Regions from separate parts of the Homo sapiens genome. Here region 1 is linked to region 2. Evidence: promoter capture Hi-C in 16 types of primary human blood cells and fetal thymus (Javierre and others, 2016). All regions are on one chromosome and are shown on one strand. Each heading gives the region's core, a stretch centred on a gene start or on the middle of the fragment in contact. The rest is flanking DNA. Distances are from core to core; before and after follow the strand shown. Region 1 overlaps CERS1 (ceramide synthase 1). Region 2 holds the start of REX1BD (required for excision 1-B domain containing).

The links. The method cuts DNA at HindIII sites, captures the fragments that hold promoters and counts their contacts. A CHiCAGO score of 5 or more calls a contact.
Region 1: a contact is called between a fragment that was not itself captured here and the fragment with the promoter of REX1BD in region 2, in 3 of 17 cell types (endothelial precursors, total CD8 T cells and naive B cells). The highest score is 5.9, in endothelial precursors.

The regions. Positions count from the first base shown.
Region 1 is chr19:18,877,110-18,882,896 of GRCh38, reverse strand. CERS1 (ceramide synthase 1) reads left to right here. Exons shown (of 8, transcript NM_021267.5): 4 at 2,462-2,623; 5 at 3,509-3,656; 6 at 3,858-3,967. It overlaps GDF1 (growth differentiation factor 1), which reads left to right. Exons shown (of 8, transcript NM_001492.6): 4 at 2,462-2,623; 5 at 3,509-3,656; 6 at 3,858-3,967. Among named protein-coding and RNA genes, the nearest start is that of CERS1, 16 kb to the left of the region's middle. RefSeq lists a silencer at 2,646-2,695. The HindIII fragment of the contact is 8,205 bases long and covers 1-5,787 here.
Region 2 is chr19:18,586,627-18,591,729 of GRCh38, reverse strand. It overlaps REX1BD (required for excision 1-B domain containing), which reads right to left and starts at 2,932. Exons shown (of 5, transcript NM_001100418.2): 1 at 2,830-2,932; 2 at 2,653-2,735; 3 at 2,047-2,317; 4 at 797-876. The coding sequence starts at 2,928. RefSeq lists an enhancer at 1-81 and a silencer at 2,585-3,104. The HindIII fragment of the contact is 10,738 bases long and covers 1-3,693 here.

The DNA.
Region 1 (5,787 bases), core at 1,546-4,045, 290 kb before region 2:
ACACAGTGAAACCGTGTCTCTACTAAAAATACAAAAATTAGCTGGGCGTGGTGGTGGGCGCCTGTAGTCCCAGCTACTCAGGAGGCTGAGACAGGAGAATGGCATGAACCCGGGAGGCGGAGGTTGCAGTGAGCCGAGATCATGCCACTGCACTCCAGCCTGGGCGACAGAGCGAGACTCCGTCTCAAAAATAAACAAACACGTACATAAATACATTTTTAAAATTACTTTATCTTATTTATTTACTTACTTATTTTTTTGAGACAGAGTCTCGCTCTGTCGCCCAGGCTGGAGTGCAGTGCCATGACATTGGCTTACTGCAACCTCCGGCTCCCAGGTTCAAGCAATCCTCCCGCCTCGCCTCAGCCTCCCAAGTAGCTGGGATTACAGGGGTATGACATCACACCGGCTAATTATTATATTTTTAGTAGAGATGGGGTTTCACCATGTTGGCCAGGCTGGACTCGAACTCCTGACCTCAAGTGATCCACCTGCCTCGGCCTCCCAAAGTGCTGGGATTACAGGTGTGAGCCACCACGTCTGGTTAGTTTAAAAAATAATTTTAAAAAGCCCCTATTCCATTCCTCAGCCACACAAGCCACAGTTCAAGGGCTCAGTGGCCACAAGTGGCTGGTGGCTCCCATGTTGGACAGTACAGGTTTAGAACATTCCCATAGTTCTAGAAAGTTCTATAATTCAAGGCTCTCTAGAGGGCAGAATCAGATGATAGAACCAAAAAGGAAGGAAGGAACAGTTCATTTGAAGGTGATAAGAATTATGGAGAAAAGGCCAGGTGCAGTGGCTCATGCCTGTAATCCCAGCACTTTGGGAGGCCGAGGTGGGTGGATCACCTGAGGTCAGGAGTTTGAGAACAGCCTGGCCAACATGGTGAAACCCTGTGTCTGCTAAAAATAAAAAAATTAGCTGGGCATGGTGATGAGTGCCTGTAGTCCAAGCTACTCAAGAGGCTGAGGTGGGAGAATCGCTTGAACCCGGGAGGCAGAGGTGGCTGTGAGCCGAGGCATTCCAGCCTGGGCAACAGAGTGAGGCTGTGTCTCCAAAAAAAAATTGTGGCTGCAGGTGTTAGGTGTTAGTTGGTCTGGGGGTGACAGATGAGCAGATGAGCAGAGACTGAAAGGAGTGAAGGGAGGTGCTGAATGCCAGGCACTGGCATGCTGGGTCATGGGGACAGCACGTGCAAAGGACCTGTGGCAGGAGCCCAGGAGCTGTCAGGAGACAGAGCAAGGAACAGGGACTTGGTGAGAGACACTTCCCCACGTCCAGGGTGAATCCAGGACCCTCGGGCAGCTCATCTGTCAGATGGAGACTCTGTGGAAGGACAGGGGATGGCCTTCGGGCTTATTAAGATCCTAATGGGGCCGGGCACGGTGGCTCACACCTGTAATCCCAGCACTTCGGGAGGCCAAGGCGGGTGGGTCACATGAGGTTGGGAATTCGAGATCAGCGGGACCAACATGGTGAAACCCCGTCTCTACTAAAAATACAAAATTAACTGGGCGTGGTGGCACATACCTGTAATGCCAGCTACTTGGGAAGGCTGAGGCAGGAGAATTGCTTGAACCCGGGAGGTGGAGGTTGCGGTGAGCTGAGATCGTGCCATTGCGCTCCAGCCTGGGCAACAAGAGCAAGACTCTGTCTCAAAAAAAAAAAAAAATTAAAAAAAAAAAGGATCCTGATGGGCTGCGGCAGAGGCCTTTCCTGCAGCGATGGCCAGGCTGCACGTACAGACCTGGAAGTCTCATCATGGTGGTGGTGTCCAAAGTGAGGGACAAGCTCATGGAGGATCTGGACACAGAGTACCCCAGGCCTGTGAGAGTCGGGGGTCATAGAGGGTCAGAGGTCACCAAGATGAGGAGGGGCCAGCAAGGAACTTCCAAGACCGGGCACAGTGGCTCGCGCCTGTAATCCCAGCACTTTGGGAGGCCAAGGTGAGAAGATCGCTTGAGCCCAGGAGTTTGAGGCCATTCTGGGCAACATAGCAAGACCCAGTCTCTACTAAAAATTAAAAAAATTAGCCGTGTGTGGTGTTGCTTTCCTGTAGTCCCAGCTTCTCCGGGGGCTGAGGTGGGAGGATCACTTGAGCCTAGGAGTTTGAGGCTGCAGTGGGCCCGATCACACCACTGCACCCCAGCCTGGGCCACAGAGCAAGACCCTGTCTCAAAAGAAAAATAAACTTCCAGGGAGCTCCCTGGGCCACATGGGGACACTGAGGCAGGGAAGATGAGGGTCTGGTTGGGGGTGCACGGCTAAGTGGGGGACAGTGAGGAAAGGGCATCCTGGGAAGTGGAGATGGGCAGGGCAGGCGAGGCAGGAAGGGTGGCTTTGAAGAGGCCCACGGGGAGCCTGAGGTGTAGCCCAGGGACTCTGCTGGGGGCCTTAGTGCAGAGTGGAGGTCCCCCAATGTGAGCTGCCCTCTCCTCTCTGCCTGCTGCTCCCCCAGGTACCACAATGTGGGCATCCTTGTGCTCTTCCTGCACGATATCAGTGACGTGCAGCTTGAGTTCACCAAGCTCAACATTTACTTCAAGTCCCGCGGCGGCTCCTACCATCGGCTGCATGCCTTGGCAGCAGACTTGGGCTGCCTCAGCTTCGGCTTCAGCTGGTGAGTGGTAGGGAGTGCTGGGCAGGGAGGGAGGTGTGGCCTGGTGAGGTGGGTGTGTCCAGAAAAGGGGCGGGACCAGGCAGGGAAGGAGGCGGGGCCCGGTGAGGTGGGTGTGTGGCATGACAGGGGAGGGGCCTCATGATTTGGGTGGGACTGAAGGGGCGGGGCTATACAGGAAAGGAGTAGGACAAGGGTGGGGCCAACTGAGCTAGGAGTGGGGCTGGGCAGAAAAGGATAAGCCAGGTGAGGTGGGTGGATCCAGGAAGGGGAGGGGCCTGGTGAGATAGGTTGGGCCAGGCATGGAAGGGGAAGAGCTAGACTAATACAGAGCAAGCCAGGGGTGGGGCCAAGCAGGGTTGGGGTAGGGCTAGGCAGAGAAAGAGGTAGGGCTTTGGTGTGGTGGGGAAGACCTGGCAGAGAAAGGGAGGCGCTGTGCAGGGAAGGAGGTGGGGGCTTGGTGAGGTGGGCGGGGCCTGGCAGAGAAGGGGAGGGACTGGGCAGGGAAGGAGGTGGGGCCTTGGTGAGGTGGGTGGGGCCTGGCAGGAAAGGGGAGGGACTGGGCAGGGAAGGAGGTGGGGTTTGGTGAGGTAGGTGGGGCCTAGCAGAGAAGGGGAGGGACTGGGAAGGGGAGGAGGTGGGGCCTTGGCGAGGTGGGTGAGGCCTGGCAGGGAAGTGGGGGGCCAGGCGGGGAAGGATGTGGGGCCTTGGCGAGGTGGGCGGGGCATGGCAGGGGAGGGGAAGGACAGAGCAGTAGTAGAAACAGGTGGGCAGAGGTGGGCAAGGATGGGATAAGGGGGCAAGGGTGGGTCTAGGACGGGATAGGACAGGGACTGGGTAGGGCACCGTCCCCCTCCACCCACGGCCTCCTGACTCCTCCCACCGCAGGTTCTGGTTCCGCCTCTACTGGTTCCCGCTCAAGGTCCTGTATGCCACCAGTCACTGCAGTCTGCGCACGGTGCCTGACATCCCCTTCTACTTCTTCTTCAATGCGCTCCTGCTGCTGCTCACCCTTATGAACCTCTACTGGTTCCTGGTGAGTCGGCCCCGGCTCTCCTCCACAGTGGCGGTCCCGTCCTCGTCCCAATCCCTGTCCCCTCCTCAGGCAGTCCCGGGGAGGGGCACGTTAGGTGGCAGACAGCCCGTGTGGAGGGCCCGGGACAGGAGCACATGGCTGTCAGCAGGGCAGTGGCGTGGGGGCTTTCTTCTCACTGGCACCTCCCCTCCCCTCTCGCAGTACATCGTGGCGTTTGCAGCCAAGGTGTTGACAGGCCAGGTGCACGAGCTGAAGGACCTGCGGGAGTATGACACAGCCGAGGCCCAGAGCCTGAAGCCCAGCAAAGCCGAGTGAGTGTGGAGGGGCCCGCACCCCGCGTTCCCTCCTTTAGTGTCACCCGTCCAAGCGTGTTCGTGGGCAGGCCCCCAAGACCCAGCAGCAGATGAGGCCGACGCGGATGCTGCCCCCCAAGCCTACTCCAAAACAGAGACTGCAATAAAGGCGTGGACGATGTGGCCAGTACCCTGAAGGACAGGACAGTGAGGAAGGGGAGGGAGAGGCTGGGGAGGGGCAGGCAGGGCGACAGGCAGGGTCTCAGCGGTAGGGACACTGAGGGCCAGGCCTAGTGGCTGGTGTGGCGGGAGTGGCGAGCCAGGGCCCTGTGGGTGGTGAGGAGTAGTTGCTGGCCAGCCTGGATGACGACCTCTGACCCATGTCGCCACTGGAGCTGGTGGCAGTGGGGCTGGGGAGGAAGGAACGCCAAGGGCCACAGAGAGAACCCAGGCTCCATCTGGGCCGAGACATCCTGGCCTCTGAGTTTGACAGGGGAGCCCACTGCCCGGCCAAACAGGAGCTGGGGCTGGGAGCTCAGACTCAGTCCAGCCCAGGTGGGAGTCCTGGGGAAGGAGATAGCCCACGAGCCTCACCAGCCCTGGGTGACAGCCAGATGGTGTCCGAAGCCCCAGGCCTGGGGCAGGCAGGGGGTGTCTGGGCCAGGGATGAACGGAGGCCAAACTGGGTAACAAGCAGAGTCGGGTGTGCAGTGTCTCATAGGCAACGTGAGGAGTGTTTGAGCAGGAGCCGGGGCAGGAGGTTGTGGAAGGCCCTGGAAGGTGCCGACCAGCCAGGCCCTCTGATTTGGCCGGTGGGGGCCATCGGTGACGTGGGAACGATGGTTTCAGGGAAGCAGTGGCTCAGAGCTCCGTGACGTTTTTTGGAACGGGAGGTGCGAGATGCAGACATTTAACACATCCGGGGCTGTAGCCAGGCAGAGGAGCGTCAGACCCCCCACCCTGTTTGGAAGGGAGAACCCATCAGATTCGCCTTGGGTGTAGATGAAACAGAAATAAAAGAATCAAAGACGACTCAAGACTTTTGGCTCGAGCTGGTATTGACTGAGATGGGATTGGGGCAGAGGGTCACATGGGTTCTGGCAGATGCGGCGTTAGGAGCCTCCTTTTGAGGGTGTTAGATTGCGCTGTCCTTTGAGCATGAGTCAAGAATTCTTTTTTTTTTTTTTTTTTGAGACAGGGTCTCACTCTGTCGTCCAGGCTGGAGTGTGCAGTGGCACGATCTCGGCTCGCTGCAACCGCCGCCTCCCAGGCCCAGGAAGTGATCCTCCTGCCTCAGCCTCCCAAGTAGCTGGGCCCACAGGCATGCACCACCATGCTGTGCTAACTTTTGTATTTTTTGTAGAGCTGGGGTTTCCTCATGTTGCTCAGGCTGGTCTCAAACACCTGGGCTCAAGTGGTCCACATGCCTTAGCCTCCCAAAGCTGCTGGGATTACAGGCATGAGCCACTGCAGCCGGCCTGAGTCGGGAATTCTCCAGAGATCAGCTAGGTCTCTCCAAGGAGTCTTCCAAAGGTGGCGATGGCTAAAGGGGGCACCAGTTTGGCCACATCTAGACACCAGGAAGGTCCTCTTGCTGTAGAACAGTGAGCTCATGGTGGGGACATCCTCGGAGGTGCAGAACCCAGAACAAGAGGAAGCCAGACCTCCCAGCCCCACCAGTGTCTGGCTCTGTCCCCGCTGAGGATGTCTCATCAGAACACAGGGTAAGAGCTGGCATGTCCTCTAGGACAGCAAAGCATGCACCCTGTACAGAAGTGCCAGAGAGTATCAGGGAACACCCTGTGATGATTGATCCCATAGGCACCACCAGCAGAATT
Region 2 (5,103 bases), core at 1,683-4,182:
CAAGCTACTTAGGAGGCAGAGGTTACGGTAAGCCAAGACCGCACCACTGCACTCCAGCCTGGGTGACAGAGCAAGACTCTATCTCAAAAAAAAGAAAGAAAAAAGAAAAGAAAATAAAGGACCAGGCGTGCTGGCTTACGCCTGTAATCCCAGCACTTTGGGAGGCTGAGGTGGGCAGATCACGAGGTCAGGAGATCGAGACCATCCTGGCCAACATGGTGAAACCCATCTCTACTAAAATACAAAAAATTAGCTGGGCGTGGTGGCACGCGCCTGTAGTCCCAGCTACTCAGGAGGCTGAGGCAGGGGAATCACTTGAACCCGGGAGGCGGAGGTTGCAGTGAGCTGAGATCGCGCCACTGCACTCCAGCCTGGTGACAGAGTGAGACTGCATCTCAGAAAAAAAAGAAAAGAAAAGGCCATCTTGGTGGGGTGTGTACCATTAGGAGGTTATGAAGTGTGACTTTGTCAAATGTGTGTGTACATGAGTGTGTGTGCTTGGGGGCTGAGGACAGGCATCTGAAGGTCTGTGCTCAGTGGGGCATGTCCAAGCTCCACGGACAGCCACGTGTGCAGGATTGGCATGTGTCGAGGTATACAGCAGTGTCCCAGCAATGCACAGCGAAACTGATGTGAAGTTTCACGGCTGTGCCCTCTGGGGAAGTGTACATCTGAGGGCCACCAGGTGAGAACACCATTGTGCACTGGCAGAGGGTTCCTCTGCTGGCAGCGTCCTGACCGTGCCAACCCTGGTGCAAATCGAGCATAGCCAGGCGGCTTGGGCAGCAGCGCTCACTTCATTTTCAGCTGCTGCATCCGTACAGCGTCCTCCTGCCCCGCCAGCTCTGGCGTCTCCATCAACTGCAGCAGGGCCACCTGGTGGGGGAATGAGCAACACGAAGGATGTCTCCACGAGCAGAACCCACCCCCTGCCCTCCAAGGATGTTCAGGAAAAAACAGAGGCACCCAGAAAGGCAGTGCCCGGGTAGAACCACGAGGGGCAGTGCTTTGTGTAGGAAGAGTCCGAAATTCAGTTTAGAGGCTCTCTCAGAAAGGAGACAGCAGGCAGGCCAGAGGCAGTGCTGAGCGCGATGTGGGCGTGGCCTGGGAACAACAGTGACGTCTTAGCCAGGCATTGGCCGTAGGGGTGGGTTAGGTTGCGCCTCATGGTCCCAGGGACGGGGACCCAGGATAAAAGTAGGCCAAAAAGCCTGGACGCGGTGGCTCACGCCTGAAATCCCAGCACTTCGGGAAGCAGAAGAGGGCGGATCGCTTGAGACCAGGAGTTCGAGACCAGCCTTGCCCATATGGCACAACCCCGTCTCTACTAAAAAAAATACAAAATACAAAAATTATGCCTGTAATCCCAGCTACTCAGGAGGCTGAGGCAGGAGAATCGCTTGAATCTGGGAGGCGGAGGTTGCCGTTAGCCGAGATCGCGCCATTGCACTCTAGCCTGGGTGAGAGAGCAAGAGAGCAAGAGCCTGTCTTAAAAAAAAAAAAAAAAAAAAAAAACACCAGAAAGAAAAAGGCCAAAGAGACGCTGAGACGGGTCGCTCATGGGGGGCGTGGCCTAGGAATTCCAGTCACACACGGTTGCAGGGCCGAGCAGGCGGATCGCAAGAGAGAAATAGGCAAAGAACTAAAGCTGTGATGGAGGAATAATACGGAGGAGGCGTGGCCTGGGACCCCCCTCGCCTGTATCTACGGGAGGTTGAGGGTGGGACCCTAGACGCGGAACAACCAGAGTGGGTGGAGCATTGTTGGGGCGGGATCTGGGCATCTTGGAATAGCATTTAGGCGGAGCTGGGAGAAAGCGGGAGTGCTCTGGGAATAAGGACAAAACTTGGGAAAAAAATTGGGGATGAACAGCAGAGGGCAAGGTCCGAGAATCCCCAAGTGAAGCCTTAATAGAGGATTGGGGTGGGACAGGAAGGGGTGAGGTCTGTGTATGGGATACTGGGACCACCCCCCAACCAGGGGTGCGTCATGAGAGGAGCCGGCCAGGGTCCTAGAGACACGGCGGGGAAGGGGTGGTGGCCTCACCGTGCCCAGCCGCGTCTGCTCCAGCTCCTGCAGGCTGCGCACGTGGCCGGCGAGCAGCGGCTGCCTGCGAGGCCCGCCCAGCTCTGCTTCCACCGCCAGCACCTCCCGCGAGGCGGCGGCGAAGGCCTGGGTCACCCCGTGCACTGTGCTCCGGTAGCGCGCGAAGTCGTAGTCAGGGCCGCTGCGCAGGTACTGGCGGTGGCCTCTGCGGCATGTGGGGACCCTGAGGCCGCGCCCCCAGGCTCTCAGGCCCTGCACCGGCGCCAACCACCTGAAAGGCCCCCAGGAAGTGTCCCCAGACACCAGAGGGGAGGACTGGTAGGTAGGAAGGACGCTTCCTGACTCCCGCAGGGGAACGCGAGACAGGCCCACCCCTGCTCTTGGGGAGGAGAGAGAAGCCACGAAGAGTGAGTCGTCGGGTAGTGGGGACGTGCTGTGGGGCCTTTTTCGTGAAGGTGAGGACCCGGTGCCCCGAAATCCCCGCCCCATCTGACTCTGCAGCCACACAAGGACCCAGCTCCTCCTCCAGGCACGCCCGCCGAGAACACGCCCACGCCCGGAGCGGGCGGGGGACCGAACCCTGAGCCCCTCCGCGCCCCCACTCACTCCTCCAGTCGGCGGAAGCCCTGCGCGCGCTCAGCCTGCAGCTGGTGGATGCGCTGCACCAGCGTCCGGATCGGGGCGTCTTTCTGCGGGACAGGGGGCACGGCTGGGGCATGAAGCCCGCGCCCCTGGGTCTGCGCCGCCCGCCCCGCGCCCGTTCCCGCTTGGGCCTGGGCTCACCCAGGGCCACGCCGGCTCCTCGCGTCCCCGAGCTTCGGTGGCCTCCTCAGCAGCAGGCACTGCAGGGACCGTAGGCTCCGCCGCGGTCTCGGTGATCATGACTGCGCAGCCCTGGCCAGGCTCCGGAGCAGGCCCTTCCGCTGCGCCCGACGCCCCCTACAGGCCGGGAGGTCCACGGACCCCCTACCCTGCGGCCGGCCAGCCAGAAGGAAGAAAGGGGAACCAAGACCGCGGGCCGCCCAGTCAAGCCCACCCTTCTTGTTCCCGTCCAGGGCCCGCCTCCGATCGTGTTTTTCCTTGATTGTGCGGCTCTGAATACAGAACAGCTGTTAGCCTTGAGTTCGTTCCTATGCTTGTATCTCAACACCGACTTCCACTTGAAGCGGGTACTGAGCGTGGGTTTTGACGTTCAAGAGTGTTAAGTAAGCCTGGGCAACCTAGGGAGGCCCGATCTCTACAGAAAAACCAATTAGCCCGACATGGTGGCTCCCGCCTCCAGTCCCAGCTACTCGGGAGGCTGAGGTGGGAGGATTACATGAGCCCGGGAGTTGGGGGCTGCCATGAGCTATGACCATGCCACTGCACTCCAGCCGGAGCCACAGTGAGTCTGCCTCAAAAAAAGTGCAGTGGCTGGAACTCCACCAACATTAACAGAGATTCACTGGCTCTTCAGAGAATCACAGGGGTGAAGACAAGATTCAGTGACAGGGACGGTGTCAACAGCCCACCGAGTTGAATTGGGTGTCTTGTGTAATAGCCCTGAGCCTGGAGCATAGCAGGGGCCAGAACGACCTCAAAGTACAGAGGAGGCCTTGGAGCTTCCTGCTGGAGGGATACATGGGCTAGACAGAGCTTTGGAAAGCTTCCTCCTCCAGGGGCCCAGCCGGAGGAGCAGGAAGATGCTGGTAGCCTGACTTAGTGAAGAGGGACCAGCTCAGGTATGGGGTGACAGACACCAGCCTTTAAGGGGGAAGGGACTAGGCTGTTAGTGAGTTGGGAGTTTTTCTTGCCGATGGGTTCGTGGTCTCGCTAACTTTGAAGAATGAAGCTGTGGACCTTCGCGGTGTGTGTTACAGATCAAAAAGAGTCCACGGACCAGGAGAGTGAGCAGCAGGGCAGTTTATTGAACAAAGCGAAAGGAAAGCTTCCACATGCTGGAAGGGGACCCGGAAGGGTTGCCGTTGCTGGCTCCGGTGGCTAGGGCTCATATCCCTATGTTACCCCTCCCCTTTCTTTTTGTCCATTGAGAGTGGTTCTTTTTTCAATCCTCCTCTGGAGTGTTTTTTTTTTTTGTTTTTTTTTTTTTTTTTTTTTAGTGAGACAGAGTCTCGCTCTGTCGCCCAGGCTGCAGTGCAATGGCACGATCTCGGCTCACTTCAAGCTCTGCCTCCCGGGTTCACGCCATTCTCCTGCCTCAGCCTCCCCAGTAGCTGGGACCACAGGCGCCCGCCACCACACCCGGCCAATTTTTTGTATTTTTAGTAGAGGCAGGGTTTCACCGGGTTAGCCAGGATGGTCTCAATCTCCTGACCTCGTGATCCGCCCGCCTCGGCCTCCCAAAGTGCTGGGATTACAGGCGTGAGCCACCGCGCCCGGCCTGGAGTGGTTAATTCTGAATCCTTCACTCGATTGGTTAAGAACTCAAAACACTGAGTCACAGGGGTCTTCTGTGAAAGTCCCCAAACCTGCCCAGTAAATCCTGCCAACTCCACCCCTCAGTCCCCTCTCTCAACAGGAGAGCCCAACTGCTGTTGGGGTGTGGGAGGATGACCACTCTAATTGCTTCCTGCTGAATAGGGGCATAGAAGGGGTTCTGTAGCTGAGGTTTCCTCGTGAGAGGTGGTTTGGGTGTCAACGTCCGGGTATGGGCCGGCAGGCTGGTTTAGGGGTCCTTGATAATAGGTGCTGGTTGAAGTCATCTGAGGTTCCATCTGCAGTAACATTTCTAGTTTCATTGATTCTATTCAGGAAGAAACGAAAGGATGAAGGAACTGAAAAGACATGGGCCAAAGGTTACTCCTAGAATAATCATAAGGAAGGGACCTAAAAATGGAAGAAGCCAGTGGAGAACAGGCTGTGAGAACCCTGAGGTAGTTTCGGTTGTCCCACCATGTAGTCTGCTAGCTCTATCCTGAAGTCATTTAATTCCATCTCTCACTATGCCTGATTTATTGACATAAAAACAACATTCCTTGTTCAGAAAAAGGCATGTTCCTCCCCTTTCGGCAGTGAGGAGATTGGAGATCTAGTGCTCACTGGTTCTGGAGAACCACA